Regions from separate parts of the Homo sapiens genome. Here all the other regions are linked to region 1. The links are contacts of gene promoters, found by promoter capture Hi-C in human tissues and cell types (Jung and others, 2019). All regions are on one chromosome and are shown on one strand. Each heading gives the region's core, a stretch centred on a gene start or on the middle of the fragment in contact. The rest is flanking DNA. Distances are from core to core; before and after follow the strand shown. Region 1 holds the start of ZC3H3 (zinc finger CCCH-type containing 3). Region 2 has its middle 7.9 kb from the start of ZFP41. Region 3 overlaps NRBP2 (nuclear receptor binding protein 2).

Region 1 (2,526 bases), core at 20-2,519:
AAAACTCCTGACCTCGTGATCCGCCCGCCTCAGCCTCCCAAAGTGCTAGGATTACAGGCGTGAGCCACTGCGCCCGGCCGAATTTCCTTCCATTTTAAGGCTGAAAAATATTTCATTGTTTGTATGGATCACATTTTGTTTATCCTTCCATCCACCCGTGGACACTTGGGTTGTTTCCGTCTTTTGGCTATTGGGAAAAATGCTGCAGTGAACATGGGGGCACAAATATGTTTGAGTCTCTGGTTTCCATTCTTTTGGGAATATAGCCAGAAGTAGGGTTGCTGGATCATACCGTAGTTCCATTTTTGTTTTCTCCTAGAAAGGCAGATTGCCACATGCAGCGCCTCATTTGGATGTGTCTGGAATCTTGACTACCCTACCTTCTCCTACAAATGGACCTTGAGAGCTTGTTTGGAGGTTCTACCAGGGAAGCCCAGCTCTTCTATTGGGTATGGTCGTTCTCTTCGACTGAGCTGCAGCTTCGGGAGGGACGCACATGAAGCAGTGAGGAAGGAAGGGGACACCCGCCTAGCCAGCCAGATCAGCCGAATCAACCCTGGCGATCAATGGGATGACAGGTGTCGCAGCCAGATCGCCCTCATATCCGGTAGTTCTACTTTTAACCTTTTGTGGAATCTCCATAGTTTTCTGCGGTGCTGCGCCATTTACATTCCCACCAACAGCGCACAGAGGTTTACACTTGTACATGTTTCCAATGACGAACTAAAAACTTTCATGTTTTCAGAGGTTCAACATGTCTATCCAGGGAACCTTGCTCTCCGATGTCTTCTCCTCTGGCCACAGTAAGAGGTTTCACAGACCCTCCTGGGTCAAGAGTAATTGTTAACTGGCCCTTCTCCCATGGGTCCCCGCGTAGACCCCCCCCCCCCCAACACTCAACTGGGGCGAAATGAAACGCAGGGACTGTGGGAAGGAACTGCGGTATGGGCTGGGTGGGCCCCAGGTCTCGCCCCTCGCCAAGTCTCCCAAGGGGACGCGATCCCGGACTGCACAAGCTGGGCCCGCGCGGCCTCCCAGAGCCCAAGCAGTCCCTTCCCAGCCGTTACCAGGCCACTTCCCGGCGCTCACTAGTGACGTCCCCGCCTCGTTCTGCGCGTGCGCGGCTCTGCCTCTCCGCTGCCGTTGTCAGCGCGACGGCGGGTCCTCGGCGGTCGGCAGACATCCGGGCCTGCTCCTGGCAGCTCCGCCCTGGCCCGCTCCGCCCCGCCCGCGGGAAAAAGGTCGCGTAGCGATGACGTCGTGGGGGCCTGGCCGGCCGTCGCGGACTCGGGAGATGGAGGAAAAGGAGATATTACGGCGGCAGATCCGCCTACTGCAGGGTAGGTCCGGCCGGGGCCGGGACGCGAGTCCCCTTCTTTCCCCCTCACCTCGCGGCGGGTCCCCTGCCCCCTTGTCGAAGGGGTCGCTCACCGCCCGCGTGTTCTGGGTGGCGGCTGGGGTGGGGGACGGTAGGGTCCGCCAGGACTTGTGGGCCGGCTCAGGGCCCGGGTCAGTCCCCGGCTCCAGCTTTGTCGAGGGAGTGGTGCCGGCCCTGCTGGGGCTGCAGAGGGTGGAGGCAGGGCCGTCGCTTAGTAACCCGCGGGGGGCGGCGGCCCTCCCCACCACCGCGGGCTGTCGCGTCCCCCGGCGCCCACTCTCTCCCCGCGCCCCACTGCGGGGCTGGGACTAGTTCATGGCTCATTTCGGCAGAGCAGGCTAAGGGCGCACGCGGGTTCCTTCCTTGACGCCCGGTTTTTTTTGAGACAGAGTCTTGCTCTGTCACCCAGGCTGGGGTGCGGTGACGCGATCACGGCTCACTGCAATCTCCTCATCCTGGGTTCGAGTGATTCTCCTGCCTCAGCCTCCGGAGTACGTGGGATTACAGGTAGGCGCCAGAACGCCTGGCTAATTTTTGTATTTTGAGTAGAGACGGGGTTTCACCATGTTGGCCAGGATGGTCTCTAACTCCCGACCTCAGGTGATTCACCCGCCTCGGCCTCCCAAAGTGCTGGGATTACAGGCATGAGCCACCGCTCCCAGCCTCGACGCCCGGTTTTGATGCCCCTTTTCTCCGAACAGTCACACTCCCCTTGCCATTCCAGGCGCAGACTGAACAGGCTTCAGCTTCCACACTTAAACATTAAAAAACCCAAATTGGTCTTTCTAAACTTAAAAAGAAAATCCATGTTCGGACGCAGTGGCCCACACCTGTAATCCCAGCACTTTGGGAGGCTATGGCAGGAGGATGGCTTGAGCCCGGGAGTTTGAGACCATCCTGGGCAACATGACGAGAGCCCGTCTCTACAGAAAAATTTTAAAAAGTGAGATGGGCGTGGTGGCTTGCGCCTGTAGTCCCAGCTACTCAGAGGTGGAAGGTTTGCTTGTGCCCTGGAGGTCCCGGCTGCAGTGAGCCGTGATTGGGCCACTGCACTCCAGCCTGGGCAACAGAGAAAAACCACATCTCAAATAAAAAGCCAAAACCAACCAAACAAAAAAAAGCTTTAAAAATTAAAAATCCTTTTTGCT
Region 2 (2,526 bases), core at 18-2,517, 300 kb after region 1:
AGAGGGTTTAAGAAACTCGACAGTGTCAAAGCACTGGGCCTGGACATCAGCACCACTGCTGGCTGTGTGCCTTGGGATGGTCAGTAGATTTCCTGTCAAATGGGGCAAGATGATAGCACCTGCCCTGTGGGGTCATTGTGAAGGCTACGTGAAAAGTCCTCACAAAGCCCTTAGTGCAGTACCCACTTGCTAAACTTGGCTTGTAATTTATAAGTTATTTTAAAATGGGGGCAATGTGCCCACTGGCTGCACCCATGGCCGTCTCGGGAGCTGCCATTGTCAGTGACTGGTGTGGGGCCAATCAGCACCTCTGCCCTCATTTCACTCTCTCTCCAGCCCAAACGTTCAAGGGGCTTAAAGAATCTTCCCACTGGATGGACTGAGCCATCCTAAAACCATCCTAAAACAGCGCCACACTTTTAGAAGCCAGAATCTAACTTTTAGAAGTTAGAAAGTTTTGATTCCGGTCGGGCGCGGTGGCTCACGCCTGTAATCCCAGCACTTTGGGAGGCCAAGGCAGGTGGATGATGAGGTCAGGAGTTTGAGACCAGCCTGACCAACACGGCGAAACCCCGTCTCTACTAAAAATACAAAAAAAATTAGCCGGACATGGTGGCGGGCACCTCTAATCCCAGCTACTTGGGAGGCTGAGGCAGGAGAATCGCTTGAACCCAGGAGGCCGAGGTTGCAGTGAGCTGAGAATGTGCCACTGTACTCCAGCCTGGGCGATAGAGCAAGACTCTGTCTAAAGAAGAAAAAAAAGTGAGTTTTGATCCCAAGGACATTCCAGTCATACTAATGGATCCGTCAGGGTTGCATCAGAGGAACAGAGCCCACAGAGACAGGTGTGTAGACGCAGGCCTGCGCTTTGCTTTGTTCCAGGGCTTGGACCTCCCAGGACTGTGGGGCCTGCTGAGCGGTGTGCTGGAGCCTGGATCCACAGGCAGGCGCCCAGAGTCTCGGACAGCAGGTGGGATGGAGCCAAGGCAGGCGGGTCTGGGTCTGGATTCCAACCCCTGCACCCCACTGCTGATGTGGGCAAGCTCCTCAACTTCAGATGCCCTCAGCGTTCCCACCCGCACGATGTTCAGATGCCCTCAGTGTTCCCTCCTGCACAATGTTCAGATGCCCTCAGCGTTCCCTCCTGCACAATGTTCAGATGCCCTCAGCGGTCCCTCCTGCATGACGGGGTAGGAACAGGATCTCATGGGATCTTCAATGAAGACCAAATGGTGTGAAGATGGAGGATGCCCAGGATGGTGTGGGGCATGGCAGGGCCTAGGGAGTGCCCAGGTCTTCCCTGCCTGGCGGGACAGCTGCTACCTTGGTTTTCACGCCCTTTATGGCATTGGTTCCTAAACCTGCTCATAATCAGAATCAGTTTGGAATCTTTTTAAGAAAAAAAAAAAAAAAAAAAGGGATTTCCAGACATCATCCAAGAGCTGGTCAAACAGAATGCCATTGGGGTTAAGCCTCATAACCTGTAATTTTAGAAGCTTCCCAGTGACTCTGATGATCAGGCAGGGCCTGAGTGGCAGCAGATGGCACAAGCTCCCTGGTGCAGTGGGGCACAGCTCGGGCTGTTCATTTGAAACTCCTAAGAGCTTGGAGAAATGCTGACCAGTCCCCCACCTCTAAGAGATCCCACTGTAGCTGGGGTAGGGGCAGAGGGGCTGGCATCTAGCATCAGCGTTTTGAAAAATCACCCCCAGATGATTCTTGTGTGTGGCCGGGGTCCAGAATCTCTGTTTTGGAGCACAGGCGAGGAGACCGCGTGAACAAGTGAACCGGTGAGGCTTTTGCATGCAGAGCAAGCAAGAGACACAAAAATGTCAGGCCACTAAGCAGAATCATTCTTCCATGAAACCCCAGCTCCTTACCTGTGAGCACATTCCTTAATTATATGTCACACCAATTTAATTGGAAAAATTAACACCCGCCCCTCGGGCTTATAATCTATGACAAGACATTGGTGGTAAATCCATTTATTCTCCAATTACGTAATCTTTCCCATGTTCACCCACTAACGGACTCACTCAGAGGTAACTTATCCAGGGTGGCACAGGCTGGGCAGTAGAGGAAGCTCCCTTCCAGCATAAACCCACTCTCTGAGCTAATTCTAGAACTTACATGGACATACCAAAAGGCTGCAGTTTGTCCAGCTCTTCCACGCTACATTTAAAAGTCCTTTCTCAGGATCATTGCAAGGTTTCTTTTTTCTTTCTTTTTTTGAGACAGGGTCTCGCTCTGTCACGTAGGGTGGAGTGCAGTGGCTCCATCTCTGCTCACTGCAGCTTCAACCTCCCTGGGTCAAGCGATCCTCCTGCCCCAGCCTCCTGAGTCGCTGGGACCATGGGCGTGCAACGGCATGCCTGGCTAATTTTTTCATTTTTTTTTTTTTTGTAGAGACGAGGCCTTGCTATGTTGCCCAGGCTGATCTCGAAACCCTGGGCTCAAGCCGTCTGCCTGTCTCGGCCTCCCAAAGCATGGGATTACAGGCGTGAGCAGTACACCTGGCCAGGGCTT
Region 3 (2,526 bases), core at 8-2,507, 290 kb before region 1:
ATAAGAGGTGCCCCTCCTTCTCTTAGGGCCTGCATCCCCACAGCCCAGCTCTCCTCCTGGCTGCCAGAGACCAGATCCAGGCTGACCCCCTTGTGGGGGTCATGGGGGTTATAGGACAGGCTGGGCACTCTCCTTTTCCGGGAGGCTCCCTGTCCCCTCAGATCCTTCCCCTGCATCCTGCTGCCTGCCCTGAACCTACTCCAAGCATCCTTCCTCCAGAACTCACCCGGGCTCTTCCACCCTGCCAGCAATCTTCCCCCACCCCCGCACCCCTCCCACCCCCCCCACCCCTCCCATCCCCCACCTGGTGCTGATTCCCGGACATCTATGTCCTGGTGTCTCCCCAGACTTTTCCTGCAGCACCCCCTCCTGGCCAGGGGCCTCTCTCGGTGCAGTGCAGCCAGAATTCATGTCCTAACAGGCAAACTGCCTGCTCCTGGCTGCCAGCAGAGATCATGGGAGTCCTCAGCTGACACCCAGGCTCTGGGAGGCCTGATCCCGCAGGCACCGTGCACTTCGGCGCGGTCCTGTCCCGCCCAACCTCCCTTTCCCCACGCCCACAGTTCCCTCTTTGTTCAAGTTGTTCTCTCCGCGGTGAAAGCTCCTATTCAGCCTTCAGTACCCAGCCCCTAATGTCGACTCTTCTCGAAGCTTTCCTTAGCTTGCCAAGCCACTAGCAGTGAGATGGGCTCCTCTTAGAGATTCCCCCCTTTCCAGTCTTTGCTGTCCCTTCCCGGCCCCTTTGGGGCCGCGGCATGTGGTCTTGCTGCTGGGTTTGTGAGTCCCAGCCTTCCCCCGCTGCAGGTCATCCAGATGCAGTGCAACCTGGAGAGAAGCGAGGACAAGGCGCGCTGGCATGTGAGCGGGGCCTGGGAGGGCGGCGCTGCCGTGGGGAAGGCGGGAGCGTGGCGGAGCCCTGAACCCCCAGCCGACCACGCCCCGCCGCCTCCCCAGCTCACTCTGCTTCTGGTGCTGGAAGACCGGCTGCACCGGCAGCTGACCTACGACCTGCTCCCAAGTAGGCTGGGCAGGGGACTTGGGCGGCGGGCGGTGACCCCAGGCGGCGGGTGGGCAGCGGCCTCATGCCTCGCCTTACGCCATTGCCTCAGCGGACAGCGCCCAGGACCTCGCCTCGGAGCTCGTGCACTATGGCTTCCTCCACGAGGTGCGCTGGGCGGTGCGGCGCGGCCTGGCGGAGGGGGCGCACGGGGCAGGCCGCGCCCCTCCGTCCCCCATGCCTCCCTCCTTCCGCAGGACGACCGGATGAAGCTGGCCGCCTTCCTGGAGAGCACCTTCCTCAAGTACCGTGGGACCCAGGCCTGACCCGGAGCCCCAGCCCCAGGGGACCATGCCGGGGTGCTGCCTGGGCAGGCCATGTTGGGGAGACTCCAGCACCGTGGGGCTGCCCTCCTCCATGCGCCTGGGAGCACAAAGGCCCCGGTAGTGAAGGAACCCCCCGTCTCCTGAGAGTGGGGCTGACCCTGCCTTGGGCGCCGAGGGGTTGGGGGGTGGGTGTGGGGGAGCCGTTAGGCCTCCCAGGTCCTTAGGATCAGGGTTGCCCCCAGAACCCCTTCCCATATCCTCCATTCTCCGCCCTGAGTTCCTACCCAGGCTGCCTGGCCGGGGCCACTGCCTCCTCAGCATGCAGGAGGCTGCCCTGTAGGGAACCCCAGCTCTGGGGCTTGGGGGTGAGGGTCAGCCCTGGACAGACCTCTGCCCAGGGAACTGCTCCATGGGGTCTGGGAGAGCAGCCATCCCCTGCTGGCACCATAGACCCACACAAGGAGCCTGCACAGCAAGCCAGCGGTGACACACCTGCAGGTGTCAGGCATGGCACTGGGCACAACAGGGACCTGGCAGGAGAAACAGACCACAGAGAGGTCTGGAGTTGAGGCTGTTGTCAGCAAAGCCCCTGGTCCCACACAGCTCTGCCCTAGAGCCACCTCTTTGACCCTTTACCCACCCTGAGACCAGAACTTGCAGCCCCTCTGCAGATCTCCTCTGGCCACTGCAGCCCCTCCAATGGGCTTTTTCTCTCATGCATTCCCTGGCCTGGAGGCGTCAGGGACCCCACATCCTCCCTGCTCCTCAGACTCACAGCCCCTCCATGTTACCTCCCGCACCTCCTCCCTGGGGCAGCTGCTCCCTGGGCCTCTGAGGATGTCAGCTCCTGGCTCCCTGCCTCTCTCCCACTCCACTCCTGGCTCAGTCTTAGAGATTTCTATGCCCTCATGGATTCTACCCCTGCCTTCCTGGCCTCTTGATTCTTGGCTTGCCTCTCCTCCAATTCCAAACTTAGTGAAATGGCCTTAAGCATTTTAAACTGTATGTATACATTAGCGCATTCATGCCTTTCTAAACGCATTTCAAATGTCAACCAGGAAGGCACACCACTGTATTAGTTTTATACTGCCGCTGTAAAATTTACCACAAACTTAGTGACTTAACACAAATTTATTGCAATTCTGTAGGCTGGAAGTCTGACTATGGGTCTCACTGGACTAGAATCAAGGCTGGCAGGCTGCC

The links. The method cuts DNA at HindIII sites, captures the fragments that hold promoters and counts their contacts. A contact is called where the count stands out against the background at its distance.
Region 2: a fragment that was not itself captured here is called in contact with the fragment with the promoter of ZC3H3 in region 1 in 1 of the 25 tissues and cell types used here (dorsolateral prefrontal cortex).
Region 3: a contact is called between a fragment that was not itself captured here and the fragment with the promoter of ZC3H3 in region 1, in 1 of the 25 tissues and cell types used here (dorsolateral prefrontal cortex).

Annotation. Positions count from the first base shown.
Region 1 is chr8:143,540,190-143,542,715 of GRCh38, reverse strand. It overlaps ZC3H3 (zinc finger CCCH-type containing 3), which reads left to right and starts at 1,269. Exons shown (of 12, transcript NM_015117.3): 1 at 1,269-1,340. The coding sequence starts at 1,295. It also overlaps the pseudogene RN7SKP175. The HindIII fragment of the contact is 13,358 bases long and covers 1-2,526 here.
Region 2 is chr8:143,237,823-143,240,348 of GRCh38, reverse strand. No RefSeq gene overlaps it. Among named protein-coding and RNA genes, the nearest start is that of ZFP41, 7.9 kb to the left of the region's middle. The HindIII fragment of the contact is 3,747 bases long and covers 1-2,526 here.
Region 3 is chr8:143,834,459-143,836,984 of GRCh38, reverse strand. It overlaps NRBP2 (nuclear receptor binding protein 2), which reads left to right. Exons shown (of 18, transcript NM_178564.4): 15 at 805-858; 16 at 955-1,018; 17 at 1,110-1,165; 18 at 1,255-2,526. The coding sequence ends at 1,323. Among named protein-coding and RNA genes, the nearest start is that of MIR6845, 2.1 kb to the left of the region's middle. RefSeq lists an enhancer at 1-164. The HindIII fragment of the contact is 3,184 bases long and covers 1-2,526 here.